Linked DNA regions of Homo sapiens: all the other regions are linked to region 2. Evidence: promoter capture Hi-C in human tissues and cell types (Jung and others, 2019). All regions are on one chromosome and are shown on one strand. Each heading gives the region's core, a stretch centred on a gene start or on the middle of the fragment in contact. The rest is flanking DNA. Distances are from core to core; before and after follow the strand shown. Region 1 overlaps FAM149A (family with sequence similarity 149 member A). Region 2 holds the start of SLC25A4 (solute carrier family 25 member 4). Region 3 has its middle 61 kb from the start of STOX2. Region 4 overlaps LOC107986330 (a long non-coding RNA gene).

The links. Contacts are between HindIII fragments. The study calls those that stand out against the background at their distance.
Region 1: a contact is called between a fragment that was not itself captured here and the fragment with the promoter of SLC25A4 in region 2, in 1 of the 25 tissues and cell types used here (dorsolateral prefrontal cortex).
Region 3: a contact is called between a fragment that was not itself captured here and the fragment with the promoter of SLC25A4 in region 2, in 1 of the 25 tissues and cell types used here (aorta).
Region 4: a fragment that was not itself captured here is called in contact with the fragment with the promoter of SLC25A4 in region 2 in 1 of the 25 tissues and cell types used here (spleen).

Annotation. Positions count from the first base shown.
Region 1 is chr4:186,151,489-186,157,950 of GRCh38, reverse strand. It overlaps FAM149A (family with sequence similarity 149 member A), which reads right to left. Exons shown (of 14, transcript NM_001395294.1): 4 at 5,906-6,048; 5 at 4,181-4,306; 6 at 3,313-3,483; 7 at 1,761-1,951; 8 at 232-386. It also overlaps the pseudogene RPSAP70. Among named protein-coding and RNA genes, the nearest start is that of FLJ38576, 37 kb to the left of the region's middle. The HindIII fragment of the contact is 5,374 bases long and covers 1-5,264 here.
Region 2 is chr4:185,138,365-185,144,765 of GRCh38, reverse strand. SLC25A4 (solute carrier family 25 member 4) reads right to left here and starts at 1,500. Exons shown (of 4, transcript NM_001151.4): 1 at 1,283-1,500; 2 at 1-2. The coding sequence starts at 1,393. RefSeq lists a silencer at 1,429-1,728. The HindIII fragment of the contact is 7,904 bases long and covers 1-6,031 here.
Region 3 is chr4:183,841,629-183,847,853 of GRCh38, reverse strand. It overlaps a transcript of STOX2 not described here. Among named protein-coding and RNA genes, the nearest start is that of STOX2, 61 kb to the left of the region's middle. The HindIII fragment of the contact is 3,239 bases long and covers 1,606-4,844 here.
Region 4 is chr4:184,054,902-184,060,831 of GRCh38, reverse strand. LOC107986330 (a long non-coding RNA gene) reads right to left here. Exons shown (of 3, transcript XR_002959824.2): 2 at 739-960. Among named protein-coding and RNA genes, the nearest start is that of STOX2, 150 kb to the right of the region's middle. The HindIII fragment of the contact is 5,119 bases long and covers 25-5,143 here.

The DNA.
Region 1 (6,462 bases), core at 1,328-3,827, 1.0 Mb before region 2:
GGAACTTGAGCACATCCTCGTCCTTCATAGGCAGGACGTCCAGGTCTCCAGGCATTGTGACACTGTGAAGGTTTCCCTTTAAGTTACCATGGAAAGCCTGCATGGACCCCTCTGCGGGCAGCGTGGAAAGCAGCCCCAAATATCTCAGTACTGCAGTTTAACAGAACGACAAACTGAGGTGACAGACACACAGAGTGAAGGCAAGAGGGAGAAGGGTGTGAAAGCACCGACCTGGGGCGGGTTCAGACGAGAAGCCAGGGAGATGCCGTGAGCCTCGGCGTGTCCGGACGGGGGGCCACTGGCTCCATCGGCGTGAGCGTGTGGAACGAGGACGTGCGGAAATCTGTTTCCAGCCACTTTCAATGTTTCTCTCTGTTTTTTCCCTTCTGTGTCAACAGAAGAATCAATATTACAAGAAACATCAGATTATCTAATACAAATACTTAAAATTCACTCTTGAAAGAGAATATGTGTGCTTGAGCTACCACGAGCCCATGCTACGGCCACTCCACATGTTACCACGGAGGGCAGAGACCCCTGTGGAGCAACTGGCTGCTGGAACTGTGGTTGCAGGGCTTGGAGAAGCAGATCACACAGTGGGCAATACAGATTCTCAGCACATGATAAAGCCCAACTAATTCCTTAAATACTGGAAAAAGAACAGGATTTAGGTTAACGTGATTATTGCCTTATTGTACAAATTGATTAATAAAACTGGTCATTAATGTCCATCACTGACATTTTTATGATTTGTTTTTGTTCAATGTTAAGTTTAGAGAATATTTTGTATGTAAGAGGATTAAAGCATGATTCAATTAGCAATGTTTACATTTTACATTACAGATAATGTCACGAACAATGAAAAACAAATATCTCATTATTAGAGAGTAGTTAGGTAAATTATTTTTACTATAACAAAAAACATGACTTCTAGCCTTGTTCTTGTGTATCTGTGTGTTTTCCAGACTGCATATGCACTGCTATTTTTGGGGGAGAGATGGTCTCGCTTTGTTGCCCAGGATGGAGTGCTCACTTTCAATACTGAATTCCTGAGCTCAAGGGGTCCTCCCATCTCAGCCTCCTGAGTAGCTGGGCCTACAGGCATGTGCCACCATGCCTGGCTAACTTTTTATTTGTATTTTTTGAAAAGACAGGGTGTTACTATGTTGCCCAAGCTGAGCTGGCCTTGAACCTCTGGGTTCAAGTAATTCTCCTGCCTTGGTCTCCCAAAGTTCTGAGTCACCATGCCTGCCCTGCATTCTTTTTTTTTGAGATGGAGTTTTACTCTTGTTGCCTAGGCTGGAGTGCAGTGGTGTGATCTCTGCTCACTGCAATCTCAATCTCCACCTCCTGGGTTCAAGCAATTCTCCTGCCTCAGCCTCCCGAGTAGCTGGGATTACAGGCACATACCACCACGCCCGGCTAATTTTTGTATTTTTAGTAGAGGTAGGCTTTCATCATGTTGGCCAGGCTGGTCTTGAACTCCTGACCTCAGGTGATCTACCTGCCTCGGCCTCCCAAAGTGCTGGGATTACAGGCGTGAGCCACCGCACCCAGCCAGCCCTGCATTATTTTTTATAACACAAAAAACAATAGCGTCCTTTTTGAAGGGACTAAAGAGCACTCATGAGTAAAGTCAGAACACCCACTTGTCTTCTCACTGGTCACGTTCTAGGTCTGGCCAAGCTGGGGAGCAGGAGCCCAGGGCCGAAGAACAGGGACTTTTTCTTTTCATTAAGCTAAATTCTGCATGTAAGTACCTGTGAGTGTAGTTTCCCAGTGTTTTCTAATCAGCTCTTCCAAAAGTTCTACCATATTTGTCCAGACGTGATCAAACACTTCTGCTGCCACGGCATCTTTGACACAGTCACGCGGGGAAACAGGAGGAAGTCCGAGTTTGCGCCATTTCCTACCGGGCTGAGCTGGTTTTTGTTCAAGACATTCATCATCACTAAGAATAAAAACCCACTCCAATTACTAAAAGATCAATGCTTAGAGTTAAAATAATTCTATCTACACACATTCACGTATGTACATGTATACATATATTAATAAACATTCTTTGTTAAACAGCATCGTTCTTTTTTAACATATATAATTTTTTTCCATTACACATGAATAAAAACAAGAAACCAACTCCTGGTTTCATTGATCTTTCTTTTTTTTTCTAGTCTCTTCATTTATTTCGGCTCTGAGCTTTGTTATTTCCTTCCTTCTACTAAGTTTGGGCTTAGTTTGTTCTTTTTCTCATTCCTTCAAGTATAAAGTTAGGTTGTTTATTTCAGATATGTCTTTTTTCTCAATGTAGGCATTTATTGCCATAGGCTTCCCTTTTAGAGCTGCTTCTACTGTACCCCATAAGTTTGGTTTTAATATGTTGTGTTTCCATTTTAATTTGTCTCATTATATTTTTTGATTTCCCTTTAGGTTTCTTCTTTGACCTACTGCCTGGTTGTTGAGGAGCAGGTTGTTTAGTTTACACATATTTGTGAGTTTTCTAGTTTTCTTCCTGTTATTGACTTTCAGTTTTGTACCACTGAGATCAGAAAAGATGCTTGATTTCAGTCTTCTCAAATGTGTTAAGACTTGTTTTATCAGTGTTACTTTTTAATGTGCCAATTTTCAATCACGGGGCAAAGTTTTATCATGTAATAGTTGTAGTTTTTGATTAAGAACAAAATACAAGGCTGGGCACAGTGGCTCACGCCTGTAATCCCAGCACTTTGGGAGGCCGAGGCAGAAGGATCACGAGGTCAGGAGATCGACACCATCCTGGCTAACACGGTGAAACCCCGTCTCTACTAAAAAAAAATTCAAAAAATTATCCGGGCGTGGTGGTGGGCGCCTGCAGTTCCAGCTACTCGGGAGGCTGAGGGAGGAGAATGGCGTGAACCCGGGAGGCGGAGTTTGCAGTCAGCCGAGCTCGCACGGCTGCACTCTAGCCTGGGCGACAGAGCGAGACTCCGTCTCAAAAAAAAAAAAAGAACAAAATACGAATTTAGTACAGAGGCAGGAACTCCCCTTAGGCCCTTTTGGGCAGCCAGGGCTGGGGAACCTGGAGCCCCCAGGACCAGGGCTGCGAGGAGCCTTGTCTGCTTTTACAAGGGCACTGAACACCCTCTTCGCTGCTCCCGCACGTGCACCGCTGGCTAGGAATCCAAAAGCTCTGGGGAGTACATTACTCTCAAAAGAACAGAAATCTTTTGGGTGAGTAAAAAATACACAAAACACTTAATGAGCATACGATAACAATAAATGTCAAATAAATTAATATTATTTTATGAGGTCAATGTCAAATAAGATTCTATTTACTCCTCTTTTCTGTCAAAAGCGAAATACTCCTCAATCTTTCCATCCACATGGTAAACCTCTTCTTCCAGGGATGAACGTGCCGTTAGGTCAGCAACCCCTGTGTCATCAGGGCCTGGCAGGGCAGAGGCTGAGAGTGCTGCTGGGACTATTTGAGAGCCAGAAATGCACAACCTATGGGAAAAAAACAGATTCTACATGGGAGTTTATAGAACACCAAGAACGCAATGCTTAAACGATCATGGCGGATCTTTCAATTATCTGTAAAGTACAGAATCCCCCCCTCCCAAAACGGTTGAATATTACATTGGACAAAACTCACGTCCTTAAAAACACTTTAATACAGGCATCATTAAACATTTTAAGGGCTTCTTAAAAGCCTAAATTATTCTATGAGTTTGTACCCTCTTTGGTTGCAGTGAAAGGACTGCATTGTGTCACGGCACACCAAATATGTGTGAATGGCATAGAGTCATCAAAATCTGCTAGTGAACAGAAACGACAGGACAGAGCTTCATTTCTCCTGCTGCCACCGCCTGGAGGCTTATAATCCATCACAGTGAGGCGGTTTCCATCCTGCACCCAGTCCACCTTTCACAGCGCCTTTGGAACAAACATGGAAGGTAACTACCATGTGTGTGCATGTGTGTTCCATATATATATTACACATCTCTCTATATACACACATATACACCTATCATCAATTCAGAATCAAAAGCTTCTTATAAAAATTGTTCTCTGTACCTGCCCTTCATCAGAATCTAAATTTCCAAAATGGGTGGAGCCAAGGCTTATAGATGAGATAAACATGAAAAAGTATAACTAAAATACAGCTAACAATACTTTTTGAGAGTCACTTATCTGAACATACTCTCTGATGTTGCTGCTGTGTCCGCAGGCACTGAGCGGGGGTCTGTGGACTGCGGAGGCAGGAGTGCTGCCCTGGAAATGCTGGACGCCTTTGTCAGTGGGCAGGATCAGCTGTCTTCCTAATACTCTGCGAGGTCAAAGAGAAGCTACTGACATTTTTGATCAGACAAAGGGAAAATGTTTGGAGATTTTAAAAGTAGGAGACAATGATTTTGAAGGCATGTGTATGATAAGATGTGTATGGGAACGTGGGAAGCATCACGCATCACAGAAGTGTGACTTTGAGAGTTTAGGCCAGACTGTTCTTCCACTGACTCAGTCTCAGGCAAGGTTCTCAGGCTAATTTCATTTGTTTGTCTTTCATTTGCAAAACAGGATAATAATGGTTACCTTGCAGGGCTGATGAATGGCTTAGAGATCATATATGACAGACTCAGGTGTCTAAGGCAACACTGGGCACAAAGAAGCCCTCCATACATATTAACTAATACACAGTTAAACACAAACATAACAAGAATACAAATATATAAATATGCACACTTGGCTTATGTACCTGACAATCTTTTCCCACCTTCCCTCCATTTCTATCAATGATGTAAGACAGCAGTGACAAGAATAAGTGTGAGCTCCCGAATTTCTGGTGAGTGATCATCCCCAGAAAAGTGAGTATCCACAACTAGTATCTAGTGGACATATCATACTCTTTAGGGCAGGTGGCTTATTAAGGGTTGAAAAGAAAAAAAAAAACAACCCTAGTTGGTCAAGATTTCTGTAAAAGTTACCTAGTGAATGTAACCAGGAAATCCAGCCACATTTACATGAGTGTTCTGATTCATTCTCCCCAGACAGAATCCACAGGAACTCAGGTAACTTTGATAAACTGTCCCCCAGTACGTTGGCTGAGTGACTGAAAGATAAGCTTGCCTTTGGCCGGGCGCGGTGGCTCATGCCTGTAATCCCAGCACTTTGGGAGGCTGAGGCGGGCGGATCACGAGTTCAGGAGATCAAGACCATCCTGGCTAACACGGTGAAACCCCGTCTCTACTAAAAATAAAAAAAATTAGCCGGGCGTGGTGGCAGGTGCCTGTAGTCCCAGCTACTCGGGAGGCTGAGGCAGGAGGATGGCGTGAACCAAGGAGGCTGAGATTGCAGTGAGCTGAGATCGCGCCACTGCACTCCAGCCTGGGCGACAGAGCAAGACTCCATCTCAAAAAAAAAAAAAAAAAAAAAAAGCAAAAAGAAAAGAAAAGCTTGCCTTCATACCCAATCCATATTCTCCATCTTTGATATGAAAAGTAACACATGCTCCTCCCTACATAAGGAATGGGTGAGATGGGAAGACCCATCTATCCAGCCGTTCAGCAAATCATCTCTGCCCACCCTCGCTGTGTTCTGTGATGAAGACAGACATGTGCTGCTCACACACAGTGAATGTGAAGGTAAGAGGTGGCCTCCACCATTCTTGCATTCGTATATGTGTCATGCCCTTCTCAGGATGGCCTGAATTTGCTTCTCACAAATTAAAAGGCGCTTGAGTACTGGAATGTCTCAGTATTTCCTCAGACGCCGTAAGAGGAAAGTGATCTCTCAGTGAAGGACTGCGCTCTGCATCCATATTCTGACTGGGCAGGCACTTTCACACCAAATGTACTGAATGTATCGAGGCAGGTCAGGGGTGGGTGCTTGGAAAACCCACCCCAGAGAACTTCCACCACCAAGGTCCCACCTCAAATGGAGGGATCTTCTTGTCCACTCCCCGCATTCGGCCAGCAGACTCTGGGTCTGAGGGTTCACTTTCCCTTCAAATAACATTTCCTCCACCTCCCAGAGTAACCGCTGCACTGACTGTGAACTGGCTTCGTCAAATTCCTAAACAGAAATGCACACTTGGTTACAACACTGCAAGTTACAGAACTGCGGGCTTCTGGATCAACGCTACTTATACATTTACTGTCACCCACTATGTAGGAGGGTGCATCACTTGGTAAAAAGATGGTGGCTTTGCAGTCAGACACACCTGTGCTCTAGCTGTTACCTTTCTGAGAAATGCCATCTCATTCTGAGCCTCGGATTCTTTTACTGTTAAATAGAGAAAACTTCTGCCACGGAAGTTATGAGACTCAAGAATTTGCATAGATAGAGGTATAGATGGACGTGTTCATACTGCCACAGACATCAGCGTAGACACACAGACACGTCCACATCTGTATGTCTGCAAACACAGGCAGCTCCTCACAGAGCTGTGCCTGACACACCTAAGCACACCTGCAAAATACAAGATTT
Region 2 (6,401 bases), core at 251-2,750:
ACCTGGTGGAGGGGAGGGTGGGTGACAGAGGACAGGCAGGGTAGAGAGAAGGGAAGAGGACAGGAGAAAAAAAAAGGTTTGCACTTCCTAGATTTTTTTTTTGAAGAAAAAAAGGATGAGGAAATCAAATGGATACTGAGGACGTGTAAATGGATACTGTTATCCATGTTAGTTACTGGATAACAAGCCAAAATAATCCAATGTTGCTTCAATTATTAGGGTATTTGAGGGAAAAGGTATTGCCCCAAATAAACTGAAAAGGTGATTGAATTATATAAAGCTATAGCCATTTATTTATTTCACTTTCCCTAGGTTTGAGAACTGTATGAGGGGCTTACTGGGGGACAGAAATGAGTAACACTCCCTGCTTCAAAGGGCTTTGGATTTAATAGACATGATGGCCAAAAAATGACAATTTCTCAGTGTCACTCTGATCACCCTGGAGATGAGGATCTCTACTAGATGCTCTAATAGAGGAAGGAGAATAAATCCACTAAACATTAGGCCTCCAAAGTTTTCAAGCAGATAATCCAAGTAATCAATTATTAAGGGTTTGCTGCCGTTGTGAGCAATTTGTGGGGGTTTTGTTGTTAGTAATTCTGACTCCCAAATTGGGCTCTTCCTCATTGAGGGGCCCTGACCTTTTGGGCAGGTGGAGGAAAACACGAGAGGATGATAAACCATTCAGCGACCAGGTAGGGGAGGAAAAGATTTGGAGACAGGATGATCTGAGTTTATTCCGAAAATTGTTTCTTAATATTTCAAAACCTCAGCTTCATCTGTAAAATGGAGAAGAATAACTCTCTCACAGAGGTTACATAAAGATGAAGGCGTCAGCCTACATACAGCATTGTGCATGAGATACGATAAGGGAATTCTTGGGTGATGATTATTTTGATGTTTTTATTGTAAAGGTGCGTGCGCATAAGACGGTGCCAAAAATACTGGCAATCACTAGGTGCCTCCGGGCCTGAGTGCACGCCCGTGCTGTCACGGGCGCAGGATCTGGCACACGTAAACCGGCTCCGGGTGGGTTTCCATATATAGACACCCGAACGCCGGGCGCCACCCGACACCAGGAATCTGCGACTGACGCTGGACCTGTCTCTACGCAGAGGGCACCTTCTTCCCCCGCGGGCGGGCGGGCGGGCGGGCGGGCGCCCGGGCCTGTGGCCTGGCGCAGATTTTCCGCGGCGCCCCGCGCCCTGCAGCTCGCGCCGCATCGCGCGCCCCGCCCGGCCCGCCGCGCCCGCGCCCGCCTCTTGCACCGCGCGGTCCTCACCTGCAGCAGCAGTTTGACCCTCTCGATGGGGGCGACCGCGGTCTTGGAGACGGCAGCGGCGACGCCCCCGGCCAGGAAGTCCTTTAGGAAGCTCCAAGCGTGATCACCCATGGTGACAGCTCGACGCTCTCAGCCCGCAGGCAGCCCGTTCGTGCTCTCGCCCACGCCCGGCCTGGCACCGCCGCGCAGTCCCCGACCCTGCGCGACGCTAGGGGGCCGCCGCCTGGCCCGCAGCTCCCCCTTATATCCCCGCCGGGCTCTCGCGAGAGGAGGCGGGTCGCGGCCGGCGCTCGCGCCGCGCATTGGCTGGGCAGGTGCGGGGCGCCCCCTCCTCCCAGCTGCAGAGGGCATCGGGGGCGAAGGCGCTTCCGGGAGCGAGGCTGGGCCGGGGGCTGTCCCTGCAACTTGGGACGTTTAAAGGGCACATTCATGTTATCTGTCCCGCCGAGCCCAGGGAACACCGTGTCACCGCGGCATGTGGGCCGCGTATTTATAGCACAGGCAGCCTTAGGCCGGGGCGAAGCCGGGGCAGACACCGGGCCGCTGCCGCCGGTGGAGAGTTCTTGACCCTCCGGCCTGCACGGGCCGCGCTCAGGCCCAGGGATTTCGAGCTGTTTCCTCCTTCTTGCATCTAAAGGCGCCCCCCACCAGAGCTCACTGCCTGGATATGGGCCTCTTTAGAGCCGTGCGCTCCCGAGAATAAATGGCAGTCCTCTCAAATAGATACTAAGGTCACCTGATGCTGTGATTGCCTCATAGAATCTGACAACCTGCTGCCTCTCATTTCTTTTCATTCAATCGTTCGTTCAGTCATTCATTCTGCTATTACATATTGATGTGTCTGGCACTCAGTGCCCACAGGAAAGACCTGGTGCAGGGGGCCACTAGGTGAATTCATACTTGTTTCTGCAAAACTCTGTGACTCTAAAACACAGGACACTTCTTTTGTAAGCCCCTAAAGGGTTCAATGTACCACTCTGCTCTCAGCGGAATTTCAGCACATATTAGGGCAGAATGTTCTGTCTGTCAGCCGGTGCCTTCTTGAGGGTCAGTGCTGTCAGCCTTCCGGAGATCCAGTCCTTGGCTGTATTTGCCTCTTTTTAATGACAGCTGGGGTTGAGGAAATGCTATTTAATCCCAGGAAATTAATTGCAATTAATTTCTTAAAATATATAAATCTGAGCTTTAATTTTCCTTAGCTTGTTTTTTAGGCAGTTCATGTAACCATACAGGTTTTCAAATACAACTGTTCCTTCCCCTAGAATGACTGCAATTCGTTTTTAACTTTAAACTCTTCACTCAATTATCTTCCCATGTTTGCTAATTTTCATTTGTACCTTTAACAAAGTTTATTCATTGTTTTATAAACTTTTTTTTTTTAATATTTGCTGACATCATGTTAGAGGTTTACGGAGCTGCAGCTGCGTGTCACCCTGGGCGTGGAGACTTTGGTATAGCAGAAGTCACTAAGGTTCCAGGGCCACAGAGGGCATGCGTTTATCTAAGAGTGGGGCAGGCTAGAGTTCCGAAATCCAGGTAAGCAGAATGAAAGCTAGAAACTAGTGGAAAGCTGCCAGAGGTCAGAGCAGACAGAAGTCAAGAACTCGGAAGAGACAAACAGATAAACCATGTATGTGTTCATTCAACAGACTCTTGCTGAGCATGTACTGTGTACCAAGAACTAGGTGTAGCCCTGTGGATTGAATATAAGTAGACGTGGCCCATCTCCAAAGACCTTACAGTTCAGTGTATTCGTCACTTGCTCCACTTTATCAAAACTTCACTTACTGATTTCCATGGATCAGCATAATCCACACAGTAAACCTTTTTAATTATAATAGTGTACTGTATCCCATCCTGTAATATAGAGCACTTGCTTTTATACCTCCATTTTCCTTTTAATTGTGCATTAGAATTGTGTCTTATTTTTATGATGAAAAATAGGCCGGGTGTGGTGGCTCATACCTTTGGGAGGCTGAGGCTGGCAGATTACCTAGGTCAGGAGTTCGAGACCAGCCTGGCCAACATGGCAAAACCCCATCTCTACTAAAAATACAAAAATTAGCCTGGCGTGATGGCTCATGCCTGGAATCCCAGCAGCTCAGGAGGCTCAGGCACGAGACCCCCGAGAGGCAGAGGTCATGGTGATCTGAGATCACTCCACTGCACTTCAGCCTGGGCAACAGAGAAAGACTCTGACTCAAAAAAAAAAAAAGAAAGAAAGAAAGAAAGAAAGGAAGGAAGGAAGGAAGGAAGGAAGGAAGGAAGGAAAACTAATACTGCTACATTGAAACTTACACAAACTTCATTTTCTCCTCTAAGTTTTTTCTTCTCATATATTTCCCAAATGGAATGGATAGATTTAAGATTTTTAAAGTTTTGTAGCTTTTGCTACATATTGACAAATTGCTCTTCAGAAATACCAACCCACCAGTTATATAGATGGGCTTTCTCTCACACTCTTCTCCAACACTGGCTTTAAAAAAATAGAGAGTTGGTTATTTGTGAGTTATTTATGAGTTTTAGTTTGTATTTACTTAATTACTATGAAGCTGTATATATTCCATATGATTCAATTTAATTTGACAGTTTGACAAGGTTTCCCTTTTGTATAAACTTTTAATCTTCCTTGACTACTGCTGGAGTGAAAGCAGAGTATTTATATTAACAACAATTCTTTATATATTTGGGACAATAAATATGTGTTGAATGTTTTTCATTTTGTTGTTTTCCTTTTGATATTTATTATATCATTCTATTAGTGTTATGAACAGATCTATGGTATGATGATGATCTATTTCATGTTCTGATGTAAATGTATCTCTTTTATAGATATAGCAGTCTATTTACTCTAGTACATATATCAGTTTTTTTCTTCTACTTTGAGTAGCTATTTTTAAAATGTCTAACACTACGTTTTATATTGTATGGAGGTATGGGTCTAATTTCACTTTTCTCCATATCATGCTTGGGTATCCCAATACTAATTCTTAAGTAGATATTTTCTTCTCTCCATTATTTGTCTTATATTACTAAGTCTAGTTTGTCATATATTAAGTTCTCATAATAGCTTTAATTTATGAAATATCCACACTATGACATATTTATTTGATCTTCATTTTTTAAAAATAGGCTGATATATGATTCTACAATCACTTAAAAAATAAAGTTTTATCTGCTTATGTGTCTGGATTTATTTTTACTATCAAGTTGTTCAATTGTTTAAACATCACCAGAAGATTTTAAATAGACATTTAAACTAAATTAAATATTAATTAATATATGAATTCAGGAAGTAGTATCATCTTTGTTACACTTAATTTTACCAATCAGAGTTTTGGATATTTTCTAAATGGGAGATATATTTCTCCTTGGCTACTCTCCAGTTATCCTGTTCTATAGAAGGAGTCATAGCTGGAATCCTTGACAAGAGGTTTTCCATGGAAACTCATACACTGTCCTCTGCTTCCACGGACTTTCTCAGAAAAGAGAGGCCTTACATGCCCTCGGGAGCATGAGCTGCCTGTGGTCACAAGATCCTGGTATCACTTACACAGGCAGGGGAGAGAATGGCGCTCGGCAGAACATGTGTCCACCCGCCCAACCCAGTACTTAGTGGCTTTCTTCCAGCAGGAGAATGGACAAGGCATCTAGGAGATGAGAAGAAACTCTACTTTCAATCGTGGATGGGATCTTAGATGCTGGTGGGAACAGGGCCATGTAGAAATGAGAGCAGGGTGGAAAGTTAGCCTTTTGGAATTTTAGTGGAAGCTCTTATAGACTTAGTCTCTTACCAAACTGGGAATAGAGAATGGAAGTTGCTAAAGAGTAAGAGTGACAAGGAATAAAGAAAAACAATAAAGGATGTGCTAATGGTGGTGATAACATAATGCCTGTGTGCAAGTGTACATTTAAAGTATTAGGAATTAGAACACACTACTAGTGTTTGTTCACATGGTAAGTTTCAGCATTAAGCGAAGAGGATCAAGATATTTATATGTGCATTTATTTATTTATTTATTTTAGAGACAGCATCTTGCTTTGTCACCCTGGCTGGAGCACGGTGGCACAATCACAGATCACTGAAACCATGCACTCCTAGGCACAAGGGATCCTCCTGCTTCAGCCTCCTGAGTAGCTGAGGCTACAGGCACATACCATCATGCCCGGATATATATATTTTTTAATTTGCAGGTTTTGCTGTGGTCTCCTGGTTTTGCTATGTTGCCCAGGCTATGTGGAGAAGCTTACATGCCAGGAACAGACATAGCTGTGGTGCCTACAGGCAATTCCAACGCAGCCTGGCAAGGACAAGGACCCAAGAGGGGGTTCTGGTTGTACTTCCAGCAGAGTGACTTTCAGTGTGTTGCCTCCACCGGAACTTGTACTTTTTACGTTTTATGAATGTTCGTGAAACAAAAAGTTTTGTTAGAAGGATTTGGCGCCTTATTATTTAAAGGAGGTGATTTGAGGGGGCAGAGGAGCCCTTGAATCATAGAAAAGACAGAGGGACTTCTCCTAGAAGGCACTCTGCTTCCGGGGGAAACTGATTCAGGTTGGCCTCTTGGTTGCTGGAGGCAGGGAGGCCTGGGGGACCCCCGTAGCACACCCCTGATAGACACAGGCGGACCCCGTGCACTTCCCAGACAGATTCAGAACCTTTCTTTTCCCACTTCCAATCTTAGCACCTCTCTTTACTTTGTTGAAGAGTCCAACAAGCACATTGAGTATCATACAACACAACGAAGCTAATGTTTATGCTTGCATAATAATGCCTTCCGACCATAACCACACACCTTCCAGGCTGGCATCTTCCAGTTTTGCCCACGGGCAACCTCTGTGAATAAAACCGTTACTCACCTGGAGCTGACTGGGTCCATTTTCTAAACACATTTTGAACTAGTGTTTTGTGTTTCACATATCCTATCAATCATTTTTAAAAACATGCTTTATTTCTATTATTAAAATCAGTAGGCAACAAATGTTATCAGAGACTATTTTTTATCATCTGTACTACTGAAGAACAATATTTTGCTATTTTAATGAATAAGGGTTTTCTTCCATATGCGTTCTTTTACCTCATGACCCTTTCCTCATAGTCAGCTAGACGTTCTGTGTC
Region 3 (6,225 bases), core at 1,976-4,475, 1.3 Mb after region 2:
CGAAAATCGTGGAATAGGGAATTCCAAGGGCCTGTTCCTGTACAGAAACAGCTAATAAATGGACAAAAACTGTCAAAATCAACTTAATCTGAACTCTGGAACTGGTCACAGGTTTACAGCGGCCAGGTGAACACATAAGAAAAAGGCAGCTGAATTTCAGTAGGGGAGATTTATGGCATTTTAACCTACCCTGGCCCCAGGATCCTCCTATCCAGTTCGATTGTGGTCTTGAAGACAGCAACCCACTTTCTTGGTGATGGTTCCTAGTGCTGGAAGGAGAGCAGATCTTGCTTTCCAATAATTGTGTTTCTTTTAACCTGTCTGGTGGCTCTGAAGGACTGATAGAAAAGGCAATATGTTCTGAATTATTTTTGCTAATTCAGAACTTTCCCTGGGTGGTGAAGTGACTACCCAATAAACATTTGTCACTCATTAAAAACACATGACTTAGTTGCTGACACCTGGGGCAAAGAAATACAAATTGGGGCAAACAACAGATAGCAAAAAAACCTAAAAGGAAAGGCTAGGGAGTTACATACTTTTCCATATAAGGACTTTGAAAAGTTCCCATGTAATCCTGGGATTCTAGAAGCCCATATACATGCTAAAGGTAGGGCATATGCTCAGAATAGACCTGAGATGGCACTGAGCTCTCACTTCTGCCTGACTTTCAGGCTCTGCACAAGCAGGAAGTGAAGGCTAAGGCAGAGTTGGGAATTGTATGGCTGAGGGTTGAAGGCATAACCTAATACACACAGCACACTGGCTCTCTGATTCTTTTTTCTGTTTTTGTTCCAGATGTTTGAGGGAATCTTTGTCAAATTGCTAAGCTAACCAAACATAAGCTTCCATGGACATACATGACAAAGAAGGCAGAACTTAACAAAATTAGTTTCTAAAAGTCACTAAACAAAGAAACAGCAACCACAATAAGCAGGTGCAACAAGTCCTGAGAATCAGAAAGAATCTGACTACCCGAGTTATCACATTACAATATTCAAAACCCAGTTTCAAAAAAAAAATTACAAGGCATGCAAGAAAGTATGACCCACGCACAGGAAAAAAAGAAAAGATATGAATAGAAACTGTCTCTGAGGAAGCTATTGAACTTACTAGGCAAAGATTTTAAATTGACTATTTTAAATATGTTGAAATGCTTTAAGAAAAAAATATACAAGCAACTAAAGGAAATCATGAGAATGATGTCTCACAAAATAGAGAATATCAATAAACACGCAGAAATTATAAAAAGAAACCATAAAGAAATTCTGGAGTTGAAAAGTACCATAAGCAAACTTCAGTGTTCAATAGCAGATTTAAAGAGACAGAAGAAAGAATCAGCAAACTTGAAGATAGGTCAATCGAGATTACCCAATCTGAAGAACAAAAATTAAAACATGAAGAAAAATAAACAGAACCAAAGAGGCCTGTGGAACACCATCAAGCACACCAACGTGATGTTCCACAAAGAGAGGAGAGAGAAAAAGGGCAAAAGAATATTTGAAGCAATAATGGCCAAGCATGAATCTACACATTCAACAAACTCAACAAACTCCAAGCATGATAAATTCACACAAGTCCAAAACAAGATACATTATAATGTAACTGTCGAAATACAAAAAGAGAATCCTGGAAGCAGCAAGAGAAAACAGCCTTGTCACAAGGTATACACAGTAAGATTAACAGTTAATTTCTCATCAGAAGCCACGGAGGCCAGAAGGCAATAGGATGACATGCAAAGTGCTGAAAGAAAACAAACTGTCCATTAAGAATTTTATATTCAGCAAACTATCCTTCAAAATTGAAGAAGAAATTAAGGCATTCCAAGATAGACAAAAACTCAAGAGGGTTTGTCACTAGTAAACCTGCCCTACAAAAAATCCTTCAGGTTGAAATGAAAAAATACTAGACAATAATTCAATATGCACGAAGAAATAAAGAACACTGTTAAGTACATATTATAAGTACACTACATAAGTACATATAAAAGTCAGTATTAAAGTATATTTGACTATTAACTCCTTTTTTCTGTAAGATTTAAAACATAACCACATAAAAGTTACAAATCTATGTCAATGGGAACACATCGTATAAAGATGTAACTTAATAAAGCACATATGCAGAGGAGAACTGTAAATCTGCAGCAGAATGAGAGATTGCATTCCCAAAGCATTGAATGGTGGATGGTCCCCTGGAGAATACTTCTCTTTTTGCTGTATCCTCTCCACATCACTTCTCTATTATCTTCATGGCCTTTACAGGTATGTGAGTTTGCAACTCCCTTGTTCAAAACTGCTGCCAGATTAGCACACTTCTGCTTAGAAGCCTCAGATGGCTCTCCACTTCCAGCAAAAAAAAATTCAAGCTTTATGGCCTGGCATCAAAGACCTGGAAGATGTGTTTCTTTTCCATCTTTTTGTCCTCATCTCTAATAATTCCATGTGATATATTCTATCTTCAAGGTAAATTGAACCACTGACTGTTCCTATTTCCATTCTTCCCATGCCATATCCCACCTGGCTTAAGCTTTTCTGAAGCTTTTCCGGCTCTGGATGGAATGATCTTCCCCTGCCCTGAAAGTGCACAGTCCATCCATCCCTATCCCTAGTCCTTATGCCCTTTATCCATCCCCTACCCAGAAGCCATCTCTCCGTCTTCTGGACTCCTGTACCACTTTAGCTGAACTTCTGTGATTGTACGTATTACTGTCTATTTTGTATTTACCTATGGTGGACATTTCTTATCTCTCCTTTTTAAACTATTATAGAGCCATCTCTACAGTTTGGAAAGGTCACCTGATTGGGAATCTAAGGAACTGTGCTACAGGCAGCCTTGGGGAGACTATTATGTTTTCTATGTTTTAGTTTCATCATGAATGAAATGGAACCAACATCTGCTTCATGAGATTCTTATGAGGATGTAATGATGTCATTTGTAATCTGTAAAGCACTGTGCACATGTGAAATAACATTTTAGCCTTGGGGTCAGAGTCCATGTTTTAGTCAACTTTGTATGTCTAACAAATTACTCAAGACATAGTAGGCGAGGTGCTCAATACACTTTTGTAAAATGAATGAACATGCTAACTCCTTGGTGAGATGAAGCTGAATCATTTAAACCAATCTACACGCATTTTCATTAATAATCTTACAGTCCTACCTACAGTCTCTCCCAGAGGTAAATAATGAAAGAACTTTTTAATAACTGCAATTAAATGACCCACCTTGAGTTTTAACACAATCAATGGCTTATTTTATTACTAACATGACTTTTTTGATATCCCTGAGGTAAAAATTCTCTGTACTCAGGGCTATTTTTTCACAATTCACACAATTTGACAACCAAATTGTCAAAAGTAAGAGAAAAAGAGGTGACTCCATTTAGTAAAGCAAAACAATACCCTGCTTTTATTTTTAAAATATTTTTAATATAAAAGGATTGTTTGAGTGAGTAAAACTGATAATTTTATAGTAAAATAAATCAATGCTCACCATGGTTTCACTCAGCTACAAATGTCAGGCAACCTAAAGAGAGAAATGAGTTCTCAGGTTTTTTTTCTAGGAAAACAATTGTTGCTTTCCTGAAGACATTTTTCAGTACCAAAATATTCAACCGGAACATGGGAACTCTCCAAGACAGTGTTAAGGGTTGGAGGAAGAAAATGACTGCCATCCTCATATCTACTTGCAATGGGGTGTCCCTTTTTCAGAGATTTATATTCCAGAATACCAACAAATACAAATTCACCAAATTGAATAATAATTTTGTTTTTTTAAGAAACAATTATTAGATTGCTTTTAAAAAGATTAGAAATTCGGATTGGGTAGAAGAACACTGGGAGTAGATGCAATTAAATAAGTAACATTAAAGAAAAGTAAACATAATTTATTTTCAGAATTTTACACCTACACTACATAAACTATGATTTACGTATAAAAAATTAAGTAAGTAAAAGCAAAAGTACAGAACTGTGGGTCAACTATAATTACAATTATTATAAGATACAGTGACGTATGAAGAAAAGAACATGGATTATGGAATTAAAGATGAGTTTCTCATCCTTTTGAAATGTTCTTTCATGGTATTACCTTTATAATAACTAAAACTCAAAGAAGAAAAAGAGCCGAGAGTATCTTTTTGCTAAAATCAGAAAAAATCAAAACAATATTTCATCATATGTGAAAATTATATGGAATCCAAATTTTGGCATGCACAGAGCTTTACTGGAACACAGCCACGCTCATGCGATTTCCATAATGTCCCTGGCTGCTTTTGTGCCACGGCAGCAGAGCTGAGTAGTGGTGACAGAGACCATATGGCCCCACAGTCGAAAGCATACACTATCTAGCCCTCTGTGGAAAAAGTTTGCCAACTCCTGATCTAAAGTTCAGTGCCCAGGAAGGTACACAATGTTTCTGTCTACATTTGTGGCTGAACAAGTCTAAAAATTGAGTGGAAATATTTAGTACTTAAGCATAAAAATGATTTCATCTTCTATTTTGGTGTTTTTCACACTGAGTTCTGCGGAGTCCTACGGGTCAGGGTGACGTCTCTGTGTGAACTGTGTGGCCAAGGTTCTGAGATTCTTCTCCCTCCTCCCAAAAAGAGTCATTCTGCTTTTATCCTTGCAGATTGGGATACCACCTGCAATTTTATTTTAAAAACATTTTTCTTTTTCTTTTTCTTTTTCTTTTTTTTTTTTTTTTGAGATGGAGTCTCGCTCTGTCTCTCAGGGTGGAGTACGGTGGCGCGATCTTGGCTCGCTGCAACCTCTGCCTCCTGGGTTCAAGCAATTCTCTGCCTCAGTCTCCCGAGTAGCTGGGATTACAGGCACCTGCCACCATGCTTGGCTGATTTTTGTATTTTTTAGTAGAGATGGGGTTTCGCCATCTTGGCTAGGCTGGTCTTGAACTCCTGACCTTGTGATCCACCCGCCTTGGCCTCCCAAAGTGCTGGGATCACAGGCGTGAGCCACCACACCCGGCCTGAATAACATTTTTATTTCAAAAAAAAAAAAAAAGAATTTAAAACTCACTGTGACCTATTTTATCTATGAGAGATGACTGCAGTGTCAAGCAAGTTTCAAAGGCCATATATGAAAAGGAACCATTATGAACCTAAAACCACACAAAACCGGACTGAAAACCAATCAGCCCTATTTGCTGAGCACTATGTCGTGAAATGAAACATAGGCAGCCAACATGGTGTATGAGGACTTCAGTTTTCTCACAGAGCACTTTCCTCCACCACAGCTTAACCCCATGTGCACACGGCCCTGCTGTATACTTTATTAAATATATAAAATTACAGAGCAATTTGATTCACATTCCTGTATTATTGCCACACATCCATTTTCCTGGGGTTAGCGAAATCAAAAACTAAAGAAACTACAAACAGGGTGGCAGAGTACCTATAATTTATTTTTATAACTAATGAGCCATTAACAGGTACTTGAGGAGGTAATTAAAGGGAAATTGATAGGAGCTGACTGTGAGGCTTGAAGTTTTCATGTTTGCTTTTTTAGTAAAGCAATAGTCTTCTATACTCCATTCAAAGCATCTGAAAAATGAGTTTAGCCACGTCGTATGGAACTAGTAAACTGATATAGACTAGGTTCCATCTAAAAAAGCAGATCTAAGACATTCCTACAAAGACTGAGTTTTGCTGAATGCCTGGGGCAGCCAGTAAGAAGACTGGTCTCTTCAACACTCAAATCTGGAAAGGTGGTAAGAGCTACTAGGGAAATGAGGAATTACCTGTGTGATATTTTAATGAATATATGTGGCAATGAGCATGAAAGGATCAAGTGGCTTCATTATCCATCTAACTTTTCTTACAGGGATTATATGAGGAAATTCATTACTTAAGCCACACACTGGCAAGGACACAGCCCTTGCTGAAAGTAAGGCTGGTATTAATAATTCCACAGTCAAGTTTTTTTTTCCCATATAAATGACTCTTTCAAATTGTATGACTCTATGGGAAAATTAAATTCCCACCATAAGCATTTACCTTACCCACTATTTTCCAATATCTTGATTATGCAAAGCCAACTTAGTATTTGATTTCATCATTCATCCAATAAGAAATTCCTAAAATAAGAGTTGCTCTGTATAATCATCTGGCATGTATTTTGGAATGCCTTAATAAGCTGTGTATTTTTTTCTGTCTCTATTTTCTCAACTTCTTACCTATTCTAAAAAGTTGTTTTAAATGTTCAAAAAT
Region 4 (5,930 bases), core at 1,335-3,834, 1.1 Mb after region 2:
TTGCTATGTTGCCCAGGCTGGTCTTAAACTCCTGGGCTCAAGTGATCTGCCCACCTTGGCCTCCCAAAGTGCTGGGATTACAGGTGTGAGCCACCACAACCAGGCTTTCTTGTAATTTTGTTAATAACTTTTTTTCTCCAGTTTTCTTTCTTGTAAGAATAGAGAATATAATAAATATAACACAAAGTATGTGTTAATCAACTGTTTATGTTATTGGTAAGACTTCCGGTCAACAGTAGGCTATTAGTAGTTAAGGTTTTGTGGAGTCAAAAGTTATACATGGATTTTTGACCGCACAAGGGGTTGGACCCCTACCCCTGTCTTGTTAAAGGGTCAACTGTATATGCAGGATGCTGTGAGAGCATGAGGGGAAAGAATTGAGCCTTTGCATGGGGGTTAGGGGACATTCCCAGGAGAAGAGACCCCCAGGGCTGAGCCTGGAAGGACCTAAGCAGGTTGAGGCAGCACCCAGGGCCTGGGGAGAGCAACACAGTCACCAAATGAGGACCCTGGCAGAATCCATTCCAGGAACCTTGGGTAGCTCTGTTTGGTTTCCCTGCAGCTCTGAGTCTTCAATCTCTCGAGAGTGGAATGGCACCGAGATGGTGGAGTGGGGCTGAGGTTCAATCCAGTCCTGCCCCTGACACCTATTAGCTATGTGTAAACCCCCGTGAGCCCGCACACCCCCGCCCCCTACACATTTTGGTGTAAGTGCTCAAGAGTTTTCCTACCCCTTACCTTAGAATCAAGAGGTCTCAGCGGTACACAAAGATCTTAAAGGCCTGCGGTCAACAAGGCAGCACCCCAGGGGCCCCCAGGAGCTGGTTCACATCTCAGTGGAAAACCTGACTCAGGTCTTTCTAGGTCTTCAAGCTTCACTTGGGGAACCGTGTCTTCTGCACTTTGCGAACGCTGGTCCCCACCGCAGCACTTCCGTCACTAAGTGTTTACTGGGAAATACTGAAGTGAGAAAGTTAGAACAATATTGTTAAGAGTTTCATTTTTTATGATGCAAAATTTATTCAATGACAAAATTCACCCTTAATTTTGACAGTGTATGTTCTCCCTGCTGGGAGGAGGTATGTGACATTATACGTCCTTTTTAACGAAATGGTTGTAACAGTAGATGACAGGATTTTTTCAAATGCCTTTTCTTGGCAAAATTATCATTTGGTAACTCCTGTCAAACTCTTAGTTTTTATTTTGACTGTTCCCAGTTGATGAAATCTCAAAATCTGGGGATCATTGAATTGGTCATTCTAGAACTGAAGTTCTGGGACTAGGTCTCAACTCTCTCTTCTTAGTCAGAAGTAATAGATTAGGCCTATGGCTCAATTCCGAGGTACTTAAGATGCATTCCTGTGGGGTCTGCCAGGATAGCACAGACTATGCTATAGTAACAAATTAAGCATAAAATCTCAAAGGCTTAATACAAAAACAAAATTATTTCTTACTCATTACACATCCACCATGGGTCAACAGGGGTTTGTATACTCCGCAAGGTCATTCAGGGACCCAGGCTGATGGAGGCTTCACTATTTATAGCTGCACTTTCTGAATGTGCTTAGAAAGTGCACATGACCTCCGAAGACACCATGAAATGTGAAGAGAGGACTGAAAAGCCATGTAGGAGCTTTTATGTCCAGGCCTAGAAGTGACAAACCTTACTTCTACCCAAATCCCTTTAGTCAGAACTCAGTCATCCTAGCCCAGTCTGCCAGTAAGGGAGGCCAGGAAATGCAGGGGAGCACGTGGATATTCAGTAAATACTAAATGCTTCTGCCGTATCAGGACTATAATCGGAAAGAGAAACTGAACAGGTAAATAAAGGCAAGACAGCAGAGCATTTTTATTTCCAGGTTAAAATGTTAGCACACTACCCTATAGGCATCAGAGAACATGAGGGGATTTAAAACAATTAAACTAGTCCCAGTATGAAGAACGGATTAGAAGGAGAGGCACTAGAGTCAGGGAGACGAATTAAGAGATGTTCTAACAGTGTTGGCATTTGGTAACAAGATCTGCATTAGTGTGATCTAAAGGGGAGTGAAAAGTAGGGATGAGCATGAAATTTTCAGCCGAAGATTAATTACATGGAAGGTCAGGATTGAAAATCCAGATTTTGGAGTCAAGAGGCAATACTTGAAACCAAGAGACCCTGCCAAAGGAGAGAGGAGGGGGCTCCACGCAAGCTCTGCTGCCCCTTGGCAAGGCAGTGTGTGGGGGCGCGGACGGAGACCGAGACTTCAGCTTCCTCGAGGGAGGTGAGTGTTGAGAGGGCGAGATTTAGACTCGAGCATTCTGTCTTTCTGAAAATGACTTACGTAACCTTCAGATAAAGGGACCAAGAATAAAATCAAGATTTGTATTTCTGTATAAGTTTGGGGCTTTCTATATTTTTTCAACTTATCTAAATTGAAGACATATTACCCTTGTAATAAGATTATAATGATTTAGTTTAAAAAAGAAAAGAAGAAAAGTAAGATGTCAAATGAAAAGCAAATTTCCTTCTCCATCTACTGTAAAACTAACAATTTTCCCCTGAAAGTCATGTGCATTCTAGTCCCGTGTCTTCCATCCTCACATGCATTTCCTGAGAACCCAGCACCCCATGGGAACTGGATGTGAGGGCTGCTATGAATGAATACATCACAGCATACACACAGAAGCACAGACCACATCGTCACGGGCGACTCAGTGACTCGCTGTCCATCTTTATCAAACCATTCTCCCACCCATAAATTGATGAATTACACTTACTGTTTGGAATAGAAAATATATGCACTGGATGCGTGAGAAATTTTCCTTTCCTTTTCTTCTTCTTTTTTTTTTTTTGAGACGGAGTTTTGTTCTTGTTGCCCAGGCTGGAGTGCAGTAGGTATGGTCTCAGCTCACTGCAACCTCCGCCTCCTGGGTTCAAGCGATTCTCATGCCTCAGCCTCCCAAGTAACTGGGACTACAGGCGCCCACCACCACATCCAGCTAAATTTTTTGTATCTTTAGTAGAGACAGGGTTTCACCATGTCGGCCAGGCTGGTCTTGAACTCCTGACCTCAGGTGATCCGCCCACCTCAGCCTCCCAAAGTGCTGGGATTACAGGTGTGAGCCACAGTGCCCAGCTTTATTTTCCTTTTCTACTCTTCCTAAACCCCTTAGGCCACGCACTTCACATTTTTATTTAATGAAGCTACTCTTTAAATACCAGGCATTGCAAAATATGAGCTGTTGGGTGTAAGACAAGGGTGACCCATTCAGAACACAGAGGAATAAGCAGAATTATCCCACTGCTGTTTTTTGTTGTTGCTGTTTTTTTAAAAAGCTCACAGTGTGCGGCACTGGCAGAATTAAGAGTCTGTTGTCTTTGTGTATAAAGAATGACACCCTATTGAAAACACAACGTGTTCTGGGTTCATGTTTGACAGCCTCAATCCATGGATCACTTTAGGAGTCTCCTGTATCAATACTCACGATAAACAAAGTGATAAAAGACCCCGGAGCTGCAGAGCAGTGTGCTTAAAAATGTGGGCTCTGGATTTAATCAGATTAGAATGCAGAATCTGCCTCAGCCACTCACTCGCGAGTGACCCTGGGCAAGTCACGGAGCTCTCTGTGCCTCGGTTTCCTCACCTGTGAAATGCCAATAACGCCTCCCACCCCCTGGGGCTGCTGCAACTATTGAAATTCACAAGCACGTCAAGTGCTTAAGCACCTGCCTCACACAGGATGAGTCGTCCCCAGATGGAGAGCCTTTTAAAAAACTGCCTCATCGGCAAGAAACGGACCCTCAAATGTCTCAGTGACAGGCACGGGGCTCGGCACAGGCAGAGCCATCCCCACACAGCCCTGGTTCCCCGAAGCTCCTGACACGTGGTGGGAGATAAGCTTTTTCACACTGAGGGGAGCACAGCAAGCTCAGCTTAGCTCAGTGTTGGAAGTTTCGGGTGGGAATGTATAGGGGACCTGCACAGACCAGGGCACAGTAGGTAGCAGCTTGGCCAGTCTTGGCCCTAGCAGAGAGGTCAGAGAGCAACGCAGTTCTAGAGCTGCCATCATGGGTCCCTGGTTGGGATTTCCCATGGCCTTCTATGCGAGGGATTTGCCATATGGGGACACTGTCATTCCAGGGCTGTGGCTGAATCGCCAACTCTGCCTTATGCCTCTGTTTAGCCACCGATGGCCTACAGGATCTGCCTTTCCTCCACCGCATGGAACTCCCAAGAAAGACCTGCAGCTGTGGCAGGCACCAAAGGCAGCTTGCATGTATCTAAAGCAAACTGGTTATCTGAGAATTGCAATACATGCCTTTTTTTTTTTTTTTTTTTTTGATGATGGTTGGGGGAGGTGTCTAAGATGCTTCTGAGGCTGTTGGCCCCTAGTGCAAGTTTGAAACATTCAGGCGCCATGTATTTCTCTATTTAAGAACGTTGATTTGGGATATTTCAAAGCTGACCATTGATTTCTCTTAGCACATAGTAAACAATTCTAAATGTCATTGATCAGAAAACTAACAACTAGTTATTTCAAATTCCATCAAAGTGCACCATTCAATGATGTTTTTCTACAGTATGAAATGTGATAGACTAGAAACTTTTCTATAACATAAAATGATAGTAATTATACAATTCCATGAAAAGAGAAAGGGGCAATAACAGTTAAGGATTTTGGAAACTGTTTTCTGTTCTACCAGTGTTCATTGGGCTTTGTCTTCCTTTGCAAATCTCCAAAAGAGAAATGTGATTTATTTTTTCCAGTTTCAAGGGTATGTACATGCCATGTAAGCTGTCTCTCAACAAACTAAGATGACTTTGAAAATGTCTGTAATCCAATTAAAATCAATATGGGGCAATCTCAGGAAGACAGGGACTTGGATGTGATTTAACAAAGGAACAGGTATCACTTGTACAATGCCTTGACTGGAGAAAGATTGTCGACCAAGGCCTGTGGCAAGCAGGTGCTCAGTAAATATTTTTATGTGTATGACTTGCTCAATGAGTCCAGAACTCAGAAAAGAGGTAAGGCCAAATAATCAGGGATTGGCAAGATTGATGGGGCACAACCCATGCAGAGAGACAAGGGATTGACAGACACAAATCCAGCCAGGAGAGGCTCACAGGCCACTGTCAGCAGGGAGTCACTTCTTGTGCTGAAATCTTTGCTCACCAAGCAAGCTACTGATCGTGCATTTAAATTCTCAGGTGAAATTCTAACTGGAAAATGGGATGGGGTATGAGCATTTTGATCCCCTGGAAAGGGCTAAATATATGGGAAGCAGTGAAAAATGTTAACTGTGAAATATCTTCAGAATCAGTATCCAGAAATCTCCCATTTTTCCCCATTCTTGTTTATTTTCATACCCCATTCAGAACTCCTGTTGACTTTAAATCAACTCAGAGCCTTGGGAAGCAATTTGTCGGAAGATGAAAATCAACAACAAAATAGGACTTTAGGTCCAAACAATTCTCCTTTAAACCCTTTGTGCATGTGATTATCTGATTTGCCTCCCCCCAACATAATCTTTCTTAATTAAATTTAAAATCATGGTTTCTGTTCACTTTTCAAAAATTGTGTAAAATAAACAATGCAGCAGACATTAGCTACCCTGCTGCTTGTGAGAATTGGCCCGTTGTCTTCCACGGTATGGCTTTCCATCTATAGCATTCTTTCGGGCATCGCATTAGAAATTGCAAGCAGAATGTGCATCACTATCCATATAGGTAAAGTGTAACATTTAGAAACTTACTACTCTGTCCCTGCAGTGAGAGAGCAATATTAATTACCTTGCTCCTGGCATGGAAAATGATGAAAATGACCTGCACAATGAGGATGTCAAACTGTCTTTTTTAATCTGACACCTGGACTGGAAATGCTAGGAATCTATGACACTTATAATTAAATACCTAAGATTATCAAACACAAGTTCAGACAAGGCT